Regions from separate parts of the Homo sapiens genome. Here region 1 is linked to region 2. Evidence: promoter capture Hi-C in 16 types of primary human blood cells and fetal thymus (Javierre and others, 2016). All regions are on one chromosome and are shown on one strand. The core of a region is centred on a gene start or on the middle of the fragment in contact, and the rest is flanking DNA. Distances in the headings are between cores, read along the strand shown.

The links. Contacts are between HindIII fragments. The CHiCAGO score rates a contact against its expected background, and 5 or more counts as called.
Region 1: a fragment that was not itself captured here is called in contact with the fragment with the promoter of TRIM58 in region 2 in 1 of 17 cell types (megakaryocytes); the score reaches 5.9 in megakaryocytes.

Annotation. Positions count from the first base shown.
Region 1 is chr1:247,561,275-247,565,874 of GRCh38, reverse strand. It overlaps GCSAML (germinal center associated signaling and motility like), which reads right to left. Exons shown (of 5, transcript NM_145278.5): 3 at 2,236-2,285. It overlaps LOC102724446 (a long non-coding RNA gene), which reads left to right. Exons shown (of 3, transcript NR_188589.1): 3 at 1-236. Among named protein-coding and RNA genes, the nearest start is that of GCSAML, 14 kb to the right of the region's middle. The HindIII fragment of the contact is 4,843 bases long and covers 1-3,671 here.
Region 2 is chr1:247,853,101-247,858,436 of GRCh38, reverse strand. It overlaps TRIM58 (tripartite motif containing 58), which reads right to left and starts at 1,250. Exons shown (of 6, transcript NM_015431.4): 1 at 771-1,250. The coding sequence starts at 1,190. RefSeq lists a cis regulatory region at 2,773-3,337. The HindIII fragment of the contact is 2,229 bases long and covers 137-2,365 here.

The DNA.
Region 1 (4,600 bases), core at 1-2,500, 290 kb after region 2:
CCCCATCACAGATTGAAGGAAAAGGTGAAAAAAACAGAATGTAGAAGTCATAAAACTGCAGAGGCCTATTATCTAAACATCTGACATGACATTGCCCCATCTTATAACTGAAGTTCTCAAGACTGAGTGAAAAAATCAAGAAAGAACATGTGTTCTGAGATAGCATCAATAGTATGTTCTTTCTGTAAATAAAGCACATTAATGTACTGAATAAGATGGATTTCAAAATTTGGTAATAAAATGTTCATAAATGTGCTATGTCAATGCAATATGATAAGCATAAAGAAAGAATGATTATAGCTGCAAATTTAAGATATAAATTTTATGTAACTATCACAGGAAAATCATACAATTCTTTAAAATGAACACTTGCTATAGAGATAGGTACAGAAATAACACGAGTAACTATTTCAAGTTACACACAAATATGCAGATTCATGTTGATTCCATCTGTGAATGCTGAAGCAATTTACATACGTGTGAATCTGAAATTGACTACCAATTTTTTTTTTTTTTTTAGACAGATTCTCGCTCTGTCGCCCAGACTGGAGTGCAATGGTGCTATCTCGGCTCACTGCAACCTCCGCCTCCTGGGTTCAAGCGATTCTCCTGCCTCAGCCTCCCAAGTAGCTGGGACTACAGGCACATGCCACCATGCCCAGCTAATTTTTGCATTTTTAGTAGAGACGGGGTTTCACCGTGTTAGCCAGGATGGTCTCAATCTCCTGACCTCGTGATCTGCCCACCTCGGCCTCCCAAAGTGCTGGGATTACAGGCATGAGCCACTGGGCCCAGCCGTCTGTTCACTCTTGTTAGTTATTTTTGCTGTGCAGAAATACTTTAGTTTAATTAGATCTCATTTGTCCATTTCTGCTTTTCTTACAATTGCTTTTGATGTCTAGATCATGAAATATTTGCTCATTCCTATGTTCTGAATGGTATTGCCTAGGTTGTTTTACAGGGTTTTTATAATTTTGGGTTTTACGTTTGGGTCTTTAATCCATCTTGAGTTAATTTTTGTATATGGCGTAAGGAAGGGGTCCAGTTTCTATCCTCTCCATATGGCTAGCCAGTTAACCCAGCACCACGGATTGAATAGGAAATCCATCCCCATTGCTTGTTAGTTAGCAACGTAGTATTCTTCATTTGAAATTTGCTAAGGGAATAGATCTCAAGTGCCCTTATGTCCCCACATTCATACAAGATGGTAGCTATGTATAGTGATGGATATATTAATTTGATGTAGTAATCATTACACAATGTATACATATATCAAATCATCACATTGCACACCTTGAATATAGGCCATTTTTATTTGTCAGTTATACCTCAATAAAGTTAGGGGTAAAAATAAACAGAGAGTTTCCTTTAGGTATACTTGTCCACAGGGGCTGAGCCCTGTTATTCATAACTGTCGATTTTGAGTAATTACATGATTACTATACCTAGATACTATGGCAAACAGAGCAAATTCTTTTTTTTTTTTTTTTTTAAGACAGGCTCTTGCTACATTGCTCAGGCTGGACTCTTAATTTCTGGCCTCAAGGAATCCTTCTACTTCAGCCTCCCAAGTAGCTGGGACTACAGGAGTGCACCACCAGCTTCTTTCAACTTCTTGAGAACAAAATAATACACTTTTTAGGGGCCGGGCATGGTGGCTCACGCCTGTAATCCCAGCACTTTCGGAGGCTGAGGCAGGTGGATCACGAGGTCAGGAGTTTGAAACCAGCCTGGCCAACATGGTGAAACCCTGTCTCTACTAAAAATACAAAGATTAGCTGGGTGTGGTGGTGTCTCCCTGTAATCCCTGCTACTCAGGAGGCTGAGGCAGGAAAATCACTTGAACCCGGAAGGCGGGGGGTTACAGTGAGCCGAGATTGTGACACTGCACTCCAGCCTGGGCGATAGGGTGGGACTCCATCTCAAAAAAAAAAATACACTTCTTATCGCCTGCTAATATTCAAAGGCCCTATTTTAGAACACCAATATACAAATTAAAAACAGTAGAATTTTGGTTAACTTCTTTCCACAGAAGTTTCTTAAATGTCACTCAAAAAATAATATACAAATATTACTTTAATACCAAGAATGATGTGATCAGTTTTATGAAAGAGTAAGAACTCCAAGCAGCCTCTTCTCCAATCTGTTATTACAATAGGCTCAAGAGTGTCTGCTAATTGGATGCTTAAATTTGCACTTCCCTACTATGAAAAATATTATACAGCCATGACTTACTTTTCTTATCTTGATCTTGAAGTTTTCTTTCAAATGTAGTCATTTCCTGCCTACAAGGAAAGAGATAGTAACATGAGATACTCCAGGTTCTCCAAAGCTGAAAATGCCTTTCAAAAAAAGCATTTGGTTGCCCTTAACCTAAGGCCATTGTTAGATTTTCCATGCAAATATTAAATACAATTAAAAGGCTGCTTACTCCAGCCTTTTTTGAAAAACCACAAAAATCTAGACAATGAAAAGTGGAAAACAAAGCTCCATATAGCATGAAGCTAAGAGAATTATTAGCTTATCAGACTACATATATTATTACACGCATGGAAAACATACATATAATATAATGAAATTTAGGACAATTCAAGAGAGAAAATGGAAAGTTTTGAAATTTATTTTTCTGCTATTCTTGATGAGGGTGTATAAATCCTTAAAGACAAATGAGAGGGTCTTACGAATTCTAACTAAAACCTTACAGTAATAGACATTAATAAGTGTGGTGGCCGGGTGGGATGGCTTATGCCTGTGATCCCAGCACTTTGGGAGGCCAAGGCGGGCAGATCACGAGGTTAGGAGATCGAGACCTTCCTGGCCAACACGGTGAGACCCCGTCTCTACTAAAATACAAAAAAAAAAAAAAAATGAGCTGGGTACGGTGGCATGCACTTGTAGTCCCAACTACTCGGGAGGCTGAGGCAGGGGAATTGCTTGAACCCGGGAGGCAGAGGTTGCAGCGAGCAGAGATCATTTCACTGCACTCCAGCCTGGTGACAGAGCGAGTCTCCATCTCAAAAATAAAAATAAAAATAAATTAAAAAAAAAATAAGTGTGGGCCAGTGATGAAAGAAATAGAGATTATTTTTAAAGGGACACAATTTACACAATAAAGAGGATTCAAAGGCGGTAGGGAGGAGATGGGGTTGCCAGCATATCACCTTTTATTTCTCTGTCAGTCAGACTCCTAAATTTAAGGGGAAATATGAAAAAAGGATATAACTTGTAATCAGCTGCCTGCCTCAAGGACAGCTAGGTACACAGTAGAGAGATGTGCCTGGGCTGAGGGAAAAACATTTTGTGAGGAAGCATTCTAAAACGACATGCCACAATCACTGCCTGGATTTTGCAACAGAGCAGAGACCCCTCTTGGAAGTCTGTCTGGCACTGCCAAGCAAGGAAATAAAGGAAAGTCGTGAGTTTCTTCGAGGGAAATTCCAGGCACCCAGCCAGCCCTGAGCAGTAAATAAGGAGCCTGGGAAGCAGGAGGAAACCTGGACCTCCACCACATGCATCCTCTGGCACACGGACCTCAGGCACGGGCGCGCTGAGGACTGAACTCCCAGCGCCATACTTTGTCTAAATTTCTTCCTGAGGAGCCTGAGAAAGTCATGCCCAGGAGCCAGACCTTAGCGTTCCTTACTCATGGCTCCATATTCTCAGACAAAGCTTTGCTTCCTTAAACAATTGCAAATCAAAGAATCTTTCATTCCACCTATGACCCGTAAGGCACCCTTCCCCCTCAGCTTCAAGGTATCTCAGCTTTTTAGGCCAAACAAACTATAATCTCCATGTATTTATTTACAATTTTGCCTGTAAATTCTGCTTTCCTGAAATTTACCCCTGCCTTTAAAAACCCTTGATTGTAAGCCATTGAAGAGGACAGGTCTTAAGCCTGAGGGATCCATTCTCCTTGCTTGGTGACCTGCAAATAGACGCCTCCTTGGTCCTGCTGCAACCCTCCGTGTGGATGTTTTTGGCTTTGCGGCGCCGGGTGAGCCGCCCTCAGTTTGGTTCAGTCACAGCCATAGCTTGTTTCTCGTCTGCACCCTCCTTAAACACACACGCATACACGCAATTTTATCTCACAAATGATCTACTTTCATTCAGAGTACTAAGCACAAAGTTACAAAGATGAAATGCGTAACAAAAGCAAAACAAAAGAAGCAGAAACAATATTTTAGAAGCAGAAAAATAACATGTTTATTATTGTTAATAGTTATTAACAATAATAAATGGAGAAGGAAAATGGACTGGCCTAAACCAGGAAAACAATTATAGAGAATAACATTTTTATATTAAATTAAAGCAACATTAATGGGAGAGGAAAGAATCAAGAGAAGTTAGCTAATGGGTACAAAAATATAGTTAGCTAGAACAAATAACTCCTAGTATTTGATAGCACAGTGAGGAAAATTATAGTTAATAATAATTTATTGTATATTTCAAAATAGCTGGAAGAAAAGAATTGTAATGTTCCCAAGACAAATAAAAGATTGGTGTTTGAGTAGATGGATATCACAAGTACTCTGATTTAATCATTACACATTGTATACATTTATCAAAATATCACATGTACCCCCCAAATATGTACAAGTAT
Region 2 (5,336 bases), core at 1-2,500:
GGGATTCAAGTGTGTTCAGAAAACATCCAAGAACTTTTGAAGGGCACCAGTAGGAAGAAATCGACACACAATTTCACAGATGCCACTCTGGGGACCAAATACTCCCATTTTGTTTTTCTTCTTTCTCTTTGAAGCTTCCCGGGCTACACCCCAAATGAAGCACCTCTTCATTGAGGATGTTCGAATCCTAAGTCCCCAAATCCCTGCTGATGGAGAGCCACCCGCTCCTACTTCAGGAGGCACGTGCACCTGAGCTTTGGAGGGGTCGGAACCCGTACCCAGCTCGACACTCTTCTTAACAACGCCCAAACCCGAGGGTTGCTTTGCTGACAACACTCATTTAATGTAAACACTGTGCAAAAGCAAAGCATTGCACAAATGAGAATTATTATGGCAAGTTTACGATATAGACGTACAATTGTTACCAAGAATGAACTGGACCACACAGCCCTCCCGACCAGAGCCCAGCTGAGGGACCAGACTATCCGCATCGGGAGAAACCAGCCCAGCGCGAGTTCGACGACAGGAGAGTGCTTGGGGGAGGGGCGGACGGTGTAAAATAATGGGTGTGTGTCGCAAAGGGGGTTACCACAGCCAAGGCAAAGAGACCCACACTGAGTGAGCCGCGTGGGCGGGGGGGACGGCGCGCGGTGGGGGGAGCGGCCGTGGGAGCCGCTCAGGAGACGGGTGGCCTCGGCGGCTCCGCTCCGGACTGTCGCCCGCTTCCCGGTCACCGCAGCGCCCGCAGCCCCCGCCGGGGGGCGCCTCACCTGGTAGCTGCCGGCGGCCTCCTGCAGCGGCGCCGTGCGGTGCGTCCTGTGCTCGGGGCCGGCGTCGCACACCCAGCACAGCGCCGCCTCGTCCTCCTCGCAGAAGCGGCTCAGGTCCTCGCCGTGCCGCGCGCATCGCCGCGCCCCGGGCCCCGCGCCCAACCCCAGCCGCCGCACGCTCTCCACCAGGCCCGCCAGCTGCCGGTTGGGGCGAAAGCCCGAGGGCCGGAAGGGGCCCCGGCACTGCGGACAGGCGTAGACGCCGCCCTGCGCGCCGTCCGACTTCTCGCAGAACTCGGAGATGCACCTGAGGCAGAAGCTGTGGCCGCAGTCCACGCTGACCGGCTCCTGCAGGAAATCCAGGCACACCGGGCACCGCGCATCCTCGCGCAGCCGCTCCCCGGGCGGCGCCCAGGCCATGACCCGCCTCCCGGAGGGCTGCGCTCCCGGCCGCCCGCACCGTCTCCCCTCGCGGTCTGCACAGGGGGAGGAGCCCACGCCCCAGGAAAGCAGGCGCCGACGGGTGGTGTCCGCTGGCTTCAGTTCAAGAGCTCAGACGAGCCACACCCGGTGAAAAGCCACCACTCAGGCGCTCCCTATGTCGGGGATAAAATTAACGTTGTGGTTCCCCGCCCCCGTCACACACACACCCAGGAAACTGGGCATTTCTAACTGGAATCCCTCCTCATATGCTATTTTCACTGGCAGTAGATCTGGAGAATTGCTAAATTCCCTCCTTCCTTCCATCTTTGTTTGTTTGTTTTTGTTTTTGTTTTTTTGAGAGGGAGTCTCGCTCTGTCGCCCAGGCTGGAGTGCGGTGGCGCGATCTCGGCTCACTGCAGCCTCCGCCTCCCGGGTTCAAGCGATTCTCCTGCCTCAGCCTCGCAAGCAGCAGGGATTACAGGCGCCCGCCACCATGCCCGGCTAATTTTTGTATTTTTAGTAGAGACGGGGTTTCACCATTTTGGTCAGCCTGGTCTTGAACTCGTGACCTCAGGTGATCTGCCCGCCTCGACCTCCCAGAGTGCTGGGATTACAGGCGCGAGCCACCGCGCCCAGCCTCCATCATCATTATATAGATTTAGTGCAGATTTCTGGGGTACCAGTGCAGTTTTGTTACATGGAGACACTGCATAAAGTCTAGGCTTTAGCGCAGGCATCGCTGTGATAGCGTAAATTGTTCTCATTAGGTGATCTCTCATCCCTCGCCCGCCTTCCACCCTCCGAGCCCCTTCCATTGTTACTGAGCTACTCCATGGTCCTCTCATGCCATAATCGTTTCTTAAAAGGCTTTCCCCCTTTATATGGCATAATCAATTTTTAAATGTTTTTTTCAAACTTCATTTTTTTCTCTTGCACTAATTACCTCTTGATAAAGAAATGAGACACCGCCTGACACGGGAAGATGCCTGCATAGGTGTGTGTAACTATAGGTTTACAGCCCAGCCAAAAATAATTCTAAATATTTAAATAAATATCTGGCCTAGTTCAATGAGGATCCTACAAGGAATACACACATGTTGTAGGATTGTTGCAAAGCCAGTCTTGGAGATGACAAAGCTATAGAGATACTCATCAGAGGAATAATTCAAGCTTAGCCTCTCAGTGGTGTACCTGTCAGATGGGGGAGGCTGAGACAGGAGCAAAATGATTTGACAGAGTATGTTACTTCATCCAGTGGAAGGCTGAATCAGGATAAAGTACATTAAAGTCTCTAATGTCGTCCAGAAAGTCGACAAGTCTGAGGCAGTGTCTGCATCTGTGCAAAATAACTTTAGTATGGTCGAGTTTGAAGTGATGGTGGGGTGTACCTGTGGCAAATCAATCTGTCCCTGAGCACACATTGTGTCTGTTTGTAGCCAGGAGTCTCAGACATTGCACCGGGTACTGAAAATACACATGTTAAGGAAAAGAGGTGGGACCCCATTTCTCCAGGAGCCTTAAGATCAACTAGAAGAGGTGGATATGAAATCATGCAAACATATAATTACAAACCAATAACTGCAAGGAAGGTCGCTCACCAGTCCTGCAGGAATATAACAGAGGACTCTGAATGAGGCTGCAGGGTCGGGGGCAGACACCTGAGGTCTCTGAGCAAACCTCTGATAGGTGAACACAAGCTGGCCAGCGGGAAGGGGGGCTCCGCAAGGCCGTGCCCCCAGAAGCCATGAAAGGTACAAGGTAAACTTCAGCAGGTGGGAGCAAGACATACCCAGATGACAGTGAGAAGCCAGGCAGGCTGGCAAGCTGGGCCAGAATATGGTGGCAGCAGATAAGGCTGCAGCAAGAGGCGGGGCCAGATGACTCAGGTCCTTGGGGATCCTCTGGGGTTTGTGGGTCTTCATTATAAGGACAAACTCTTGGGCTGGATCTCTGGCGACAGGCAGAGCAGAGGATCTTGAGGCCTAAAGGTTAAGTGCGCAATTAAAGCGAATAGATTCTTGGAGAACACACATGGATCTGTATTAGCAAAACACGAAAGATGTGGCATTAGAGAAAAAAGCTAAAGAGCAGAAGGCTTAGCAAAGAAAAACAGACTCTGGCTCCGGACTAAGGGCTGTGGCACTTGCTGAGAAGCTTGAGGCAAGCTGTGCCGCGTTTCTGCCCTGCATTTCTTCTGACGTGCAGTGAAGAGGTGTTAGTGTCATTCATATAAGGCCTTTCAGAGTATTAAACGAGCTAATAGATAGTAGACACTTAATATAGGTCCTGGCATGTTGGAAATACACACACACACACACACACACACACACACACACGTATATATATTGAGACAGGGTCTTGCTCTGCTGCCCAGGCTATAGTGTAGTGCCACAACCTGACTCACTGTAGCCTCTACCTTTCAGGCTCAAGTGATCTTCTCACCTCAGCCTCCCAAGTACCTGCGACTACAGGTGCCCGCCACCACGCCCAGCTAATTTTTGTATTTTTTGTAGAGACAGAGTTTCGCCCTGTTGCCCAGGCTGGTCTCAAACTCCTGGGTTCAAACAATCTCCCCACCTTGGCCTCCCAAAGTGCTGGGATTACAAGTGTGAGCCACCTCGCCCGGCCATGTAGCAAATATATTTAATTGAAGAAAAGGAAATGAAATAGTGAAGTGAATGGAAGGATGGTGAGTCAAAAGGTAAGCTACATTAGGAAGAGAGATTTTTTTCTATTTTGTTCACTGCTCTATCTATCCCCAGGACCTTGAAGAGTAACTGGCACAAATGGACACTCCACACATACTAACTGATTAAACAAGTTAATAAGTAAATGAACAGAATTAGGACAGTTTATCATAGGAGCTAATGAAAGAGGGAAGTTCAAAGATGATTATATTATGTCAAATGTCAAATCCATGTTTTTCTGCATTTTACATATATGATCTTGCCCTGGCTCTCCATAACTCTGGCAGATGCTGGAGCATTTTTCTATTTTGCAGGCATAACGAGACACAGTAAAACAATCCATTTACTCAAATATATGGGCCAGTTGATAACTAGGCTCACTTAAATTCAGATTTCCTAGTGCCTGTGATCCTAAGGAAAGGCCCCTGGCTTCTGACGTTGGGGGTCACTGTGGTTTTCAGTAGGGTGTGACGGAGTGGGCGAGCTCACTTCTTCCCCTGCTGGTCCTAGAGTTGCTGAGCTTAAACTGTTTTGTCTCTGACACTGGTTGACTAGGAATGACATCGGTACCATTGTTCTTAGAAACACACATTTCCCTTACAGCACGTCCATGCAGGTAAGTTGTGGACTGGATTATATCCAGATGTCATTGTATTTACAAATGCTATGTGGAGTGCCTCGCCAGGCAGTTTCTGGTTTAATGGGAATACTCTAACTTAAATTTGTATTTTCTCATGAGCTTTCTTTTGGCGTAAATAAAGCACCTCTTGGTTTATGCCAATACGACCAAATTCTAATGCACCCCACTCCTTAATTTATAGGCTAACTCCACCCTGTGACTCATTTACAGGTTGCAGAGTTGCAAATCTTTTAGCTAATACCACCTGCAACCATCCTCCTTCTCTAATATTCCTCTTCAGTTGTGTCCTGCCTTCTGTGACATCTTTAAAATATGGGATCTGCCGTCATCTGACCATTATTCCTCCCTGCTCTTTTTTGTAATTTCTTTGGTATCATGGCTTTGGGCTCCTGAAACCATTTCTTCAGGACAGCAATATTTTCTTCCCTACTTTGAACCCTTTTCACAGAGTTTCTCAGCTCTCCATGGCCAAACCCTTTGCCTCAGCTTTGGGGATTCACAATCTCCTAGCTCCATAGCCCCCAAATCAGCCCAATTTGTTACCAAAAACCAGGAGTTCGGTCTAGGTCCTGCTGCTCTCCACACAGAAAGCCAATCACTGAGACAACGATTATTGCCAAAGAAGAAGCTTTTAATCAGGTGCTGCAGCAGAGGAGATAGGAGCTCAGTTTCAAATCCATCTCCCTGACTGACTAAAATTAGAGGCTTATATAGAGGCAGGGAAGAAATAGCACACTGTGTGGAAAAAGAGGAACTAGGGAGGGGTAAGGAAGCAATCATGTTGAATAAGCGGACTGGACTGGCATCTCATTAACT